2 separate regions of the Homo sapiens genome follow, and region 2 is linked to region 1. The links are contacts of gene promoters, found by promoter capture Hi-C in human tissues and cell types (Jung and others, 2019). All regions are on one chromosome and are shown on one strand. The core of a region is centred on a gene start or on the middle of the fragment in contact, and the rest is flanking DNA. Distances in the headings are between cores, read along the strand shown. Region 1 holds the start of NEU3 (neuraminidase 3). Region 2 holds the start of LOC124902716 (a long non-coding RNA gene).

Region 1 (4,662 bases), core at 2,009-4,508:
ATGATTGAGCCAAAAGAACTCCTGCCTCATATAGTCACAGGCTCTGCCTGGAACACTCGTTTCAGATAGCCACATAACGCTCCCTCACCTTCTTCAGCTCTGCTCAAACATCATCCAATCAGGAAGGTTTCTCTGTCAACTCCTTTGCCCCAGCCTATCTTCTTTCCTTGTTCTATTCTCCACACCACTTATCACACTTTGATGCCTCCTATGTTACATTTGTTTAATACATACCACAAAATGGAAGCTCCAGAAACAGCAAGGGTATGTCTGTTTTCTTATTGCTCCGCCTTGACACCTAGAACTATGCCTATTAAGTAATAGGCACTCAACAAATTTTTGTTGAATGATTGAATGAATCAGTGAGCCAGATCTTAAAGAATGAACAGTGGATTAGCCAACTGAGGGTTAAAAGGAGAAGCGCAGAGGACAAGGATGTGAAAAGCCTATAGGCAACAGAAAACAGTGAGTTTTGGGGCCTCTCAGTAGTTTAGTGTGACTACAGTAAGGTGGAGTGCAAGGGATGGGGGCAGAGGTGGGACTGAAGGGGTCAGCACAGTCCAGATCCTGGGAGGCTTAGATAACTTATTAAGGTGTTTATTCCACAGATGGGAGACCACTCAAGAATTTTTGACAGAGGAATGGCATGATGATTTTAGACCAATCTTCCAGGAAGCTTTCAGGACAGTGAACCATACGGCAAAGTTGCACTGCTTTTGGCTACAGCCTCCTAGTGTCAACCAAGACAAACTTTTATCAATAGCATATGAATATTTAGTCACTTGTTCCTAACTTGAAGAAGGGAAAAGAACTATTGCTCAGTATCATGAGGGGAACTGGGAGAGTGGCCTTGCTGAGTCCAGAAGAAAAGCCTCCCTTCATTTCAATCCCAGGCTCTCAACAGCAGAATCAAAAGATAAGCAAGGGGAGACCATCTTCTCACTCAATACTAGAGCATACTTCTCTCCCCTCAATTCAGGCTCTCCTCCCCGGGAGGGTCAGGCTTTGTTCTAAGCAAACAATCTGTCTCTGAGCCAGGCTGGTGTAATGGTTAAGAACATAGGATTTGGACCAGGCCAGGACTATGTGACCTTGGGCATGTTATTCAACTTCTCTATGCTTCAGGATCCTCCCCTATACAATTCAGCAGAGTAGGTGATAGAAATAAAATGCTTAACTACAGTGGCTATTACAAGGCCTATGACATAGTATGAGTGCAATATATGACAGTTATTATTTTTAAACTACCAATTACTGTATATTCTAGTTTTATTCCTTGAATCCTGTGGATAACAATGACAATAATAACAATTACAACTCCCTTTCTTAAAAACATTTAAATCCCCCTTTATTGCTGAAAGAGAACATACTTTAAACTCTTAACACCTTAATTACAAGTTAAACCAACACTACTATCATCAGTCAACATGTGACTATTAGTTAAATCTAAACAGGAATTCTCCAGGTGATAAGAAGAATGGAGCACAGGATAGGCATGGAGCGGGTTAGGGCTCAGAACAGGAAAGGAAGAGGCTGGGTGCGGTGGCTCATGCCTATATTCCCACCACTCTGGGAGGCTGAGGTGGGCAGATCACTTGAGGTCAGGAGTTCGAGACCACCCTGGCCAACATGGTGACACCCCATCTCTACTAAAAATACAAAAAAAATTGGCCAGGCATGGTGGCATCCACCTGTAATCCCAGCTATTCGGGAGGCTGAGGCAGGAGAATCACTTGAAACCAGGAGACGGAGGTTGCAGTGAGCCGAGACTGCACCACTGCACTCCAGCTTGGGTGACACAGCAAGACTCCATCTCAAAAAAAAAAGGAAATGGAGAGGAAATAGGGAAATAATCACCAAAGGAGAAGCACAACTTGTCACATGGGCTGGATTCAAGTCTCAGCTCCATTTCTTGCTGCATGACGTTTTGATGGTTACTCAACCTCTAGGTCTTGGATTCCTTGCTTGTAAACTATGGATAATAATACCTACCTAAGCAGATCAATATGAAGAACCACTCAAAAGTGTTTTATAAATTTTAAACTGCTGTTTTAATAGGTGTCTTTAATTATAAATTTTGATGTCCTCACAATTTCATTTATGCTTTATTATCACTATAACAATTAGAGCCATTAATTTTTGTAATTATGCTGATCGTGTTGATGACAGAAGTAATATAGATGGTGATTCTGGCATTGCCACCCAAAACGTTTCACACAAATCAGGTGCTGGAAACGGGATAGAAAATAATCAGATATGGGCCTGCTCTGGGGTTCATTTAAGCAGAGAATTCAAATGATTACTTGCTGCTCGATATAATCACTTTCCCATCAAGTCCTTCCCGCTTTCTTACTGGGAGAGAGTATAGCCTAGCATGGACTCTGAAGTCTGACTTATCTTTGACACTTACTAGCAAGTCACTTTACTTCTGAGCTTCAGTTTCCTCACTTATAAAATGGAGATAATACCGCCTACTTCTCAGACTATAATAATGTAATTCCACAGCCTCCAACTAACCCAATGAGCCTCCAGTGAATCCCAGGAGGCCTTCCTATCTCATTTATTCACTCCTAACAAGTAATATTTAAGGAGCACCTACCACGTGCCAGACCTTTGAAGATCTGTAGTCTAAACCCTCTCATGGTATAGATGGGAAAACTCGGGCCCGGGATGGGGACAAAGCTTACTGAACGCCACTCCACAGTAAAATCTGGACCAAGACCCAGGTCTCCTAAGTTGAAACTGAAGCTCAGGGCTCTTTCTGCCGCCCAGAGACCTTTGGTAAGCAGGGCTTTTCCAGTCTCAGTTCCCTTTCATCTCTGGAGTGATAATTCTGAGGTTTAAGTTCGGCTTCTGTGAGAACGAATAAAAATAGGACTAGCCAAGAATTCTCTGGCCAGGTCAGATCCTAGCCGACTAGGTGGCTCTGTCTCAATAATCCAAGGCTGGATTTCCCAAACGCAGATGGTCTTGCTCAACCTGTCCCCACAGTTGAGTCCTCCTCGGGGAGCTCTCCTGTCTCCCAACCCCGCTCACCTGCACTGGACCCCGGCTCCTCCGTCTCTGTCGGGGCAGAGCTGGACGCCGGGGATTCTTCCATGGGGCGCGGGGGCAGGTCCGCAGGTCTCATTCGCCGAAGCCCGGAAGAGGCACCGGCCCCAAGGCTGGGGAGACTGAGACAGAGGAGGATAGAGAGGGAGAAACAACTGAGACGGAGGACACGGAGACAAGCCCCGAGAAGCGAAGAGCGTGTCGACTGCCGGAAACAGGTAACGGCAACGAAAAGAGGCGGGCGCAGGCTGTAGTCAGTGGCGGTTGGGGCCAACCGTTGGCCTACTCCGCGAGCCCTCCCCGTCCCGCCCCCTCGGCGCTGCCCCTCCCTCCAGCCCGCAGCTCGGTCCCCACCACGGCGTGGGACCGGCACCACCTCCACCCTCGCCAACTCAGCTCAAGCCCTGGGCCCACCTCAGTTCCCAACGGCCGCCTCCTCTCTTCAGTGCCACAGCCCCGAGCTCTTATATTGGTCTGTAGCTCGGTATCACCGCCTAAAGCTTCCCTGGACAGCCTGAGAGTTGAGCAAAGGTTCCCGGCCTCAGAGGGTACCCTACAAAAAGGACCAGAGGTCCAGAGCATTGGCTACTCTCCTTGCAAAATATGAAAATGAAAATATATTCATATATATAATTTATGTGTGTGTATATACACACATTTACATACATAGATTTGTCACATAGCACTGAGTCCATTCTTCTGTTTCACAGTACCGGAATTTAAGCCCCCCTCTCCCCAGCCAAAGAGGAAAGGACTGATCTAAGGTCATTTTTTATCTGGGACTAAGTACAACGTAAAGGTAATAGGCTGGGCCTGGTGGCTTATGCCTACAATCTCAGCGCTTTGGAAGGCCTACGTGGGAGGATGCCTTGAGCCCAGGAGTTGGAGGCTGTGGTGAGCTGTGATTGCACCACTGCACTCCAGCCTGGGTGACAGAGCGAGACCCTGTCTCTAAAATATAACAATTTTAAAAAGAAGAAATTTTACAAACGCCAATAAAAGGAAAGACAGACTGCTAACTTAGAGGACATAAAAATGTAAAGCTTCTGTAAATTTGAATTCGTGATATTTTTCTCATTAAAAAAAATCCTGTGCTGAGGCAGGGAACATACAAGATGAGCCTGGAACATCGTGGTGCCACAAGGAAAGAACTCACAAAATGATGAGGGTTCTTTGAAAGAACATAGGTGCCAACCTCAATACAACCTGCTGTATTTTTCTAAAAAAAAAAAAAAAAAAAAGAAAAAAAAAAAGGCCTAGAACCAGAGACCAACTCATCGTAATAAGCCCAAATAATGGGTCTTTTTTATTTTTATTTTTATTTTTTGAGATGGAGTGTGTCTCTGCCGCCCAGGCTGGAGTGCAGTGGCGTCATCTTGGCTCACTGCAAGCTCCGCCTCCCGGGTTCACGCCATTCTCCTGCCTCAGCCTCCCGAGTAGCTGGGACTACAGGCGCCCACCACCACGCCCGGCTAATTTTTTGTATTTTTTATAGAGACGGGGTTTCACCATGTTAGCCAGGATGATCTCGATCTCCTGACCTCGTGATCCGCCCGCCTCGGCCTACCAAAGTGCTGGGATTACAGGCGTGAGCCACCGCGCCTGGCAATA
Region 2 (5,171 bases), core at 1,004-3,503, 220 kb before region 1:
AAGAACCCAATAATTTATTGATCCTGTCTATTTGCACTGGTCATGATGTTAGGAGTAATCTCATATGTTATCCCATTTAATTTCTACCACAAGTCTTATGCCATTCAGTCCCATACCTGCTCAAACCTTTGTCAGTAATACTGCGTTATCAAACACAAGCTTGCATAACCTTTATGACGTGGGAGTCATCACATCTGGGCATAGCTCTGCCGCCTGCCAAATTGTGCTAGAAAATTCTCCCTTATATAAGTTGCACTCTATCTCCCTATCATGCTCCCACACTGGTCCAGTTCATGTCCTCTGAGCTACCCCGAGTAAGTCTAATCTCCTGCTCACGTGACAGCTTTTCAGATGTCTAAAGACAGCCCTTATTTCTTTTTTCTCTAGGCTAAGCTGGCTTGTTGATCATGTAGCTAGAAATGGGACAGCAAATGAAAGAATATTTGAGCTTAAGAGGCCCTTAGAGGTCACCTTGTCTGGATACTTCCTTTTACTGCTAGGCAATATGGCTTTATAGTCAGGATCCTGGACCTCAAGTTTCTGGGCCTCAGTCTCCTTATCCCTAAAATAAAGATAATAGTGATACTGACATAACAGAGGTGTTGTGAAGATTGAATGAGATGATGCAAGGGAAGCTCTTAGAAGAGCACTGGGCACACAGTAAACAGCCAATAAATATTAGCTGTAATCATTGGAGGCCCAGGGGAGAAGGGACTTGCTCAAGATCACACAGCAACTCAGAGGCAGAGCTGGGGTTAGACCAAGGACGCCTGCCTCCCAGCCTGGGCCCTTTCCCATTCCACTCTTCCCTCTGTCTTCCTCAGAAAAAGAAAATAGTCCCAGAGGGAACCAGGATACTTTTCTCACTGAATCATTTAGGATGCAAGGAAGAGGTCACCTGCTTTAGAGTGGCTTAAACTTTTTATTTTTTAATGAGGCCAGAAGAAGTTGGAATGAGGATTGGTCTGCTGATTCAACAATGTCTTTGATGACCCAGGCATTTCCCATTCTGAGCCTCGAGGGTGACTACCCCTGTGATTGCAAGATGACTGAGTGCCATCAGGAACCATGTCCTCCCAAGCAGGGAGAAAGGGCATGGTAGCAAAAAGGGTATTCTCCCTTCACATCATTCTCTTATCCAGGAGAGAAGCTTTCCCAGCAGACTATCCCCAAACATGTCATTGACTAAGACGAGGTCACATGTCTACTCTTGGACCACTTTCTGGCAAAGGGGAAGGCATTTCCATTGCTGCCTTGGATCATCCCTGTGGCTGAGCACCTTGCTACCAGAATGAAGAAGAGAGCATTTGCCATGGGAAGGCAACCAATACAACCTGCCATACTCATCTTCTGTTTTCTCTCTGGATTGCCCTCCTACCTCCTCTCCATCTCCGCCAGGAAGTCTTCCCTGGTTGCCAGGGCCTTGTCCGGCACACCCTCTTCTAATGTAATTGAACATTGTTTAATTCAAGTTACATTTCACTTTGCCAAAGATTTCTCACCTTATCATGTCCAGATCTTATCTTCTCAACCAGGCTGTGATAGGTCATTGCAAGAGTTATAGCAGCGACTAATGAATAAGTACCTACTGTGTGTCAGGCACTGGTCTGAGTGCTTGTTGTAGCCAGCTTCCAAATGGCTCCCAATGATCCATACCCCCTGGTATTCATGCCTTTTTGTATTCCCCTCCCACATTATACCAGGGTTTGTCTACATGACCAAGAGAATATGGCAAAAGTTACGGTATGTTTCTTCCAATATTAGATCATAAAAGGCACATGGAATCAAAGCTTTTGGTCAACTGCCAACAAGGTACAGAGGCCCAACAGCAATCATCGAATGAACTTGGAAGTGGATCCTCTCACCCCAGTTGAGCCTTCTGATGACTGCAGCCCTGGCTGATGCTTGACTACAACTTCATCAGAAATCCTCATGAAGATCCAGCACCTTCCAGTTAGCCCATCTGTGGGTTCTTGACCCTCAGAAATTCTATGAGATAATAAATATTTGTTGTTTTAAGTTGCTAAACTTTGGGAAAATTTATTTTTTGGTTTTGGGGGGTTTTTTGAGGCAGGGCCTTGCTCTGTTACCCAGACTGGAATGCAGTAGTACAATCACTGCTCACTGCAATCTTGACTTCCTGGGCTCAAGCAATCCTCCCACCTAAACCTTACAAGTAGCTGAAACTACAGGTGTGGGTGCTACCACCCTTGGCTAAGTTTCTTTTTATTATTATTATTATTTTTTGGAGAGATGGGGCCTCACTGTGTTGCCCAGGCTGGTCTCAAACTCTGGGGCTCAAGTGATCCTCCTGCCTCAGTCTCCCAAATGGCTGGGATCACAGGTTTGAGCCACTGTGTCAGCCAGAAAATTTATTACTCAGTAGTAGATTACTATATTGCTACTTTATCACATTAAATCCTCTCAACGATTCTGATAGGTGAAGCTTATTTATCCCTTTTACAGATGAGAAAACCAATGCTCCGATGAGTGCAGTGACTTCCCATGCCTGGTAAGTGGCAGAGCTTGGATTGACCTTCCTGTCTGTTGGATTCCAAAGCAGAGGGACCTGGGTTCTGTTTTCCCAGCTGGAATGTCCCCAGCTGCAGGATGAAGGCTGAGGAAATGGGGACATAAAAAGGAAACCTCTTTCTCTGATGTGTTTTCTCTCCTCCCCCCTTTTTTCATCCCAACCACATTAGTTAGCACTTACTACATCTATTGTACATATGTGATTCAGGGACAAGTAGGTTTATTAGCAACAACATGGGAGCCTTAGGAGGGGGATACCTGGGCTCTTGAGTGACCTTGGGCAAGTTTCTGCACTTTTCTGGGCCTCAGTTTCTTTACCTACTACATGGCAATAATAATCCCTTTCCTGCCTTCTTCACCAGGAAACCATGAGGACGGGGTGTAAAGGGACTGTGTAAAATGTGAAATGTAGTGAACACTAAAAGGTGTGTTTGGACTAAGGAGCACCCCTGACCTAGGGCTCAGACCTGTACAGCCACCTCTGTACAGAGGTGAGGGCTCCCTCTCCTCTCTCACCTGGGGCTAGGTTCGGGAGGTGGACAACACTGAGTGGCATTGAGAGCATCAACCCACTTTCTTCAGCCTCACCCTCTCCATGCCTTCTCTCTTAGGCCATGCTGCAGCCCTGCTAAACTAGTGGAAATACCCCAAGCCTGCCAGGAGGTTTCTGTCTACTTTGTCTGTGCAGTTTCTTCTGCCTTGACACCCTTCCCAACTTCTCTTCCTGGTGCATTCCCACTCGTCTTTCAAGACTGACCTTAGATATCCCACTTCTAGGATGCCTCTCCTGACCTGGCTGTAGTCCTCCTACTTCTCTTGATTGTTGCACCTGCCCCCTGCCTGAGCTCTTGGCCTTCAGCTTCTCTTTTCCACTCAAAGCCCCCATGGTGCAACCAGCGGCCTTTCCAAAATGCAAATCTTGTCATGTCACTCCCTGCTTAAAATAACTGGCCAATGGAATAATCCATCAATCAGTGCTTCAGGGGTTCCTCCTTGCCCTCAGGGAAGCATCCACACCTTCAGCTGGGTCTCCATGCTTGGTCCCTGCTGGTCTTTCCAGCCTCTGCTCTCTTCTGTCTCCTGATTGCCCTGCACATGCAGTGCCCTCCAGCCACATTGCTCTTGTCACTGTATCTCAGACACACCTCTCTCTATCTTTGCTCGTCCTGTTGTTTTTCCTGCCCATTTCCACCTTGTCCACTTGAGGAAGTCCTGCCTAATCCTTAACACCAGGTCTGATATAACCTCTTGGAAGCCTTCCCTATTGGCCCCAGGAAGAGTCCTTGGCTTCCTCTTCTTCCCTCTCCTGTATGACTACTCATGCTTTTGTTACTGTTTGTCGTCTGTTTACACTGAGAGTTTCCTGAGTAGAGACTGTATCTGACACATGGTTGTGTCCCCAGCAATGCCAGGAGAAGGGCACAGAGCAGACATGTAGGATATGTGTTGCTCATGTGAGTGGCTGAATGAATGAAGGAAGGAAGGGTGAATGAATCCAACCTTGAACCATCACTTCTTGGCCAGCCCTAGAACTGCTGTTTCCCAGGGTAAGCCCATTTGATAGCCAAAGGGGAAGTAGAAGGGAGGGACTGCTCTAGGAGGGAGAAAGAAAATCAATAAAAATGTAAATCTGGTTGAGAAAAGCTGTCCCAAGCTGGCTGTGGGGAGAGATAAGACTGGGCTGGCTGAGCCCTGGCTGACAGTGGAGGAGAGATTGGGGACAACGGAGCTGTGGCCAGGGTAGGGCAAAGGAGGTGTGTTCCTCCCTCTGTTGTCACTTCCCCCTCCGACTCTGATGCTCTATGTGTTTATGAAATTTTTTCAGGGACAGAAGGGGAAGGGAGCTTACAAATCCTGATCATCAGGTGTGGTGCCTGTGAGCATGTACATGATCTTACCCGGTCCTCACAGCTTCTGGGAGATAGGAGCTAGGCATGCTCAACCTCACTTGCAGGTGAGCAAACTGAGGTGCAGAGAGGTTAAATCATTTGTTCATCGTCACACTGTAATAAGTGGCAGAGTCAAGATTTGATCCCAAGTCTGACTCTCTCCACAACTCTATAATCTTTTCACTCCATTAAGGGCTTTTGACTGGGGACCTGGGATGCTTAGGAGGTCTACACCCAGGCATCATATGGTCTTCAACCTCTGAAATCATATGCACAATTGTGTATATGTCTCTGTGTGTGTGTTTTGTTTTATATTTAGTGGAGAGTCTATGCCTTTGATTGGATCCCCAGAGGTGGTTTTCACTTGCCCCCCATTGCCTATACCATGTTGCCTTCCTGGAGTTGGTGGCCTTTGAGCTGGGCCTGGAAGATTGGGTAGGACTTTATGAAGTGGGGATGGAGAGACAAGCTGTGCGATGGGGATGAAGAAGATAACCCAGGTCAGAGGGAACAGCATAAGCAAAGGTATGTGAAGGGGAAAGAATTCAACACCTCCAGGCAATGGTGAGGATGTCGCTGAGTTCTCTTTCACTTATCTGCATGTCAGTCATGACCCCTGGATGCCAGCTCCTGATGGGTCATCTGCCTACCCTAGAACTTCCCAGCATCTAGCATCCCAGACCTTCCCAGAGTCTACAAGAAAAGAAACCTAGGCATCAGGATGTCAGTTCTGGTCTGAGTCCTGTCCTC

The links. Contacts are between HindIII fragments. The study calls those that stand out against the background at their distance.
Region 2: a fragment that was not itself captured here is called in contact with the fragment with the promoter of NEU3 in region 1 in 2 of the 25 tissues and cell types used here (dorsolateral prefrontal cortex and mesenchymal stem cells).

The regions. Positions count from the first base shown.
Region 1 is chr11:74,987,529-74,992,190 of GRCh38, reverse strand. It overlaps NEU3 (neuraminidase 3), which reads right to left and starts at 3,258. Exons shown (of 3, transcript NM_006656.6): 1 at 3,037-3,258. The coding sequence starts at 3,130. RefSeq lists enhancers at 2,989-3,178, 3,459-3,508. The HindIII fragment of the contact is 16,586 bases long and covers 3,118-4,662 here.
Region 2 is chr11:75,207,703-75,212,873 of GRCh38, reverse strand. TPBGL-AS1 (TPBGL antisense RNA 1) reads left to right here. Exons shown (of 6, transcript XR_950308.4): 5 at 2,467-2,512; 6 at 4,741-5,171. It overlaps LOC124902716 (a long non-coding RNA gene), which reads right to left and starts at 2,051. Exons shown (of 2, transcript XR_007062782.1): 1 at 1,866-2,051. The HindIII fragment of the contact is 3,195 bases long and covers 656-3,850 here.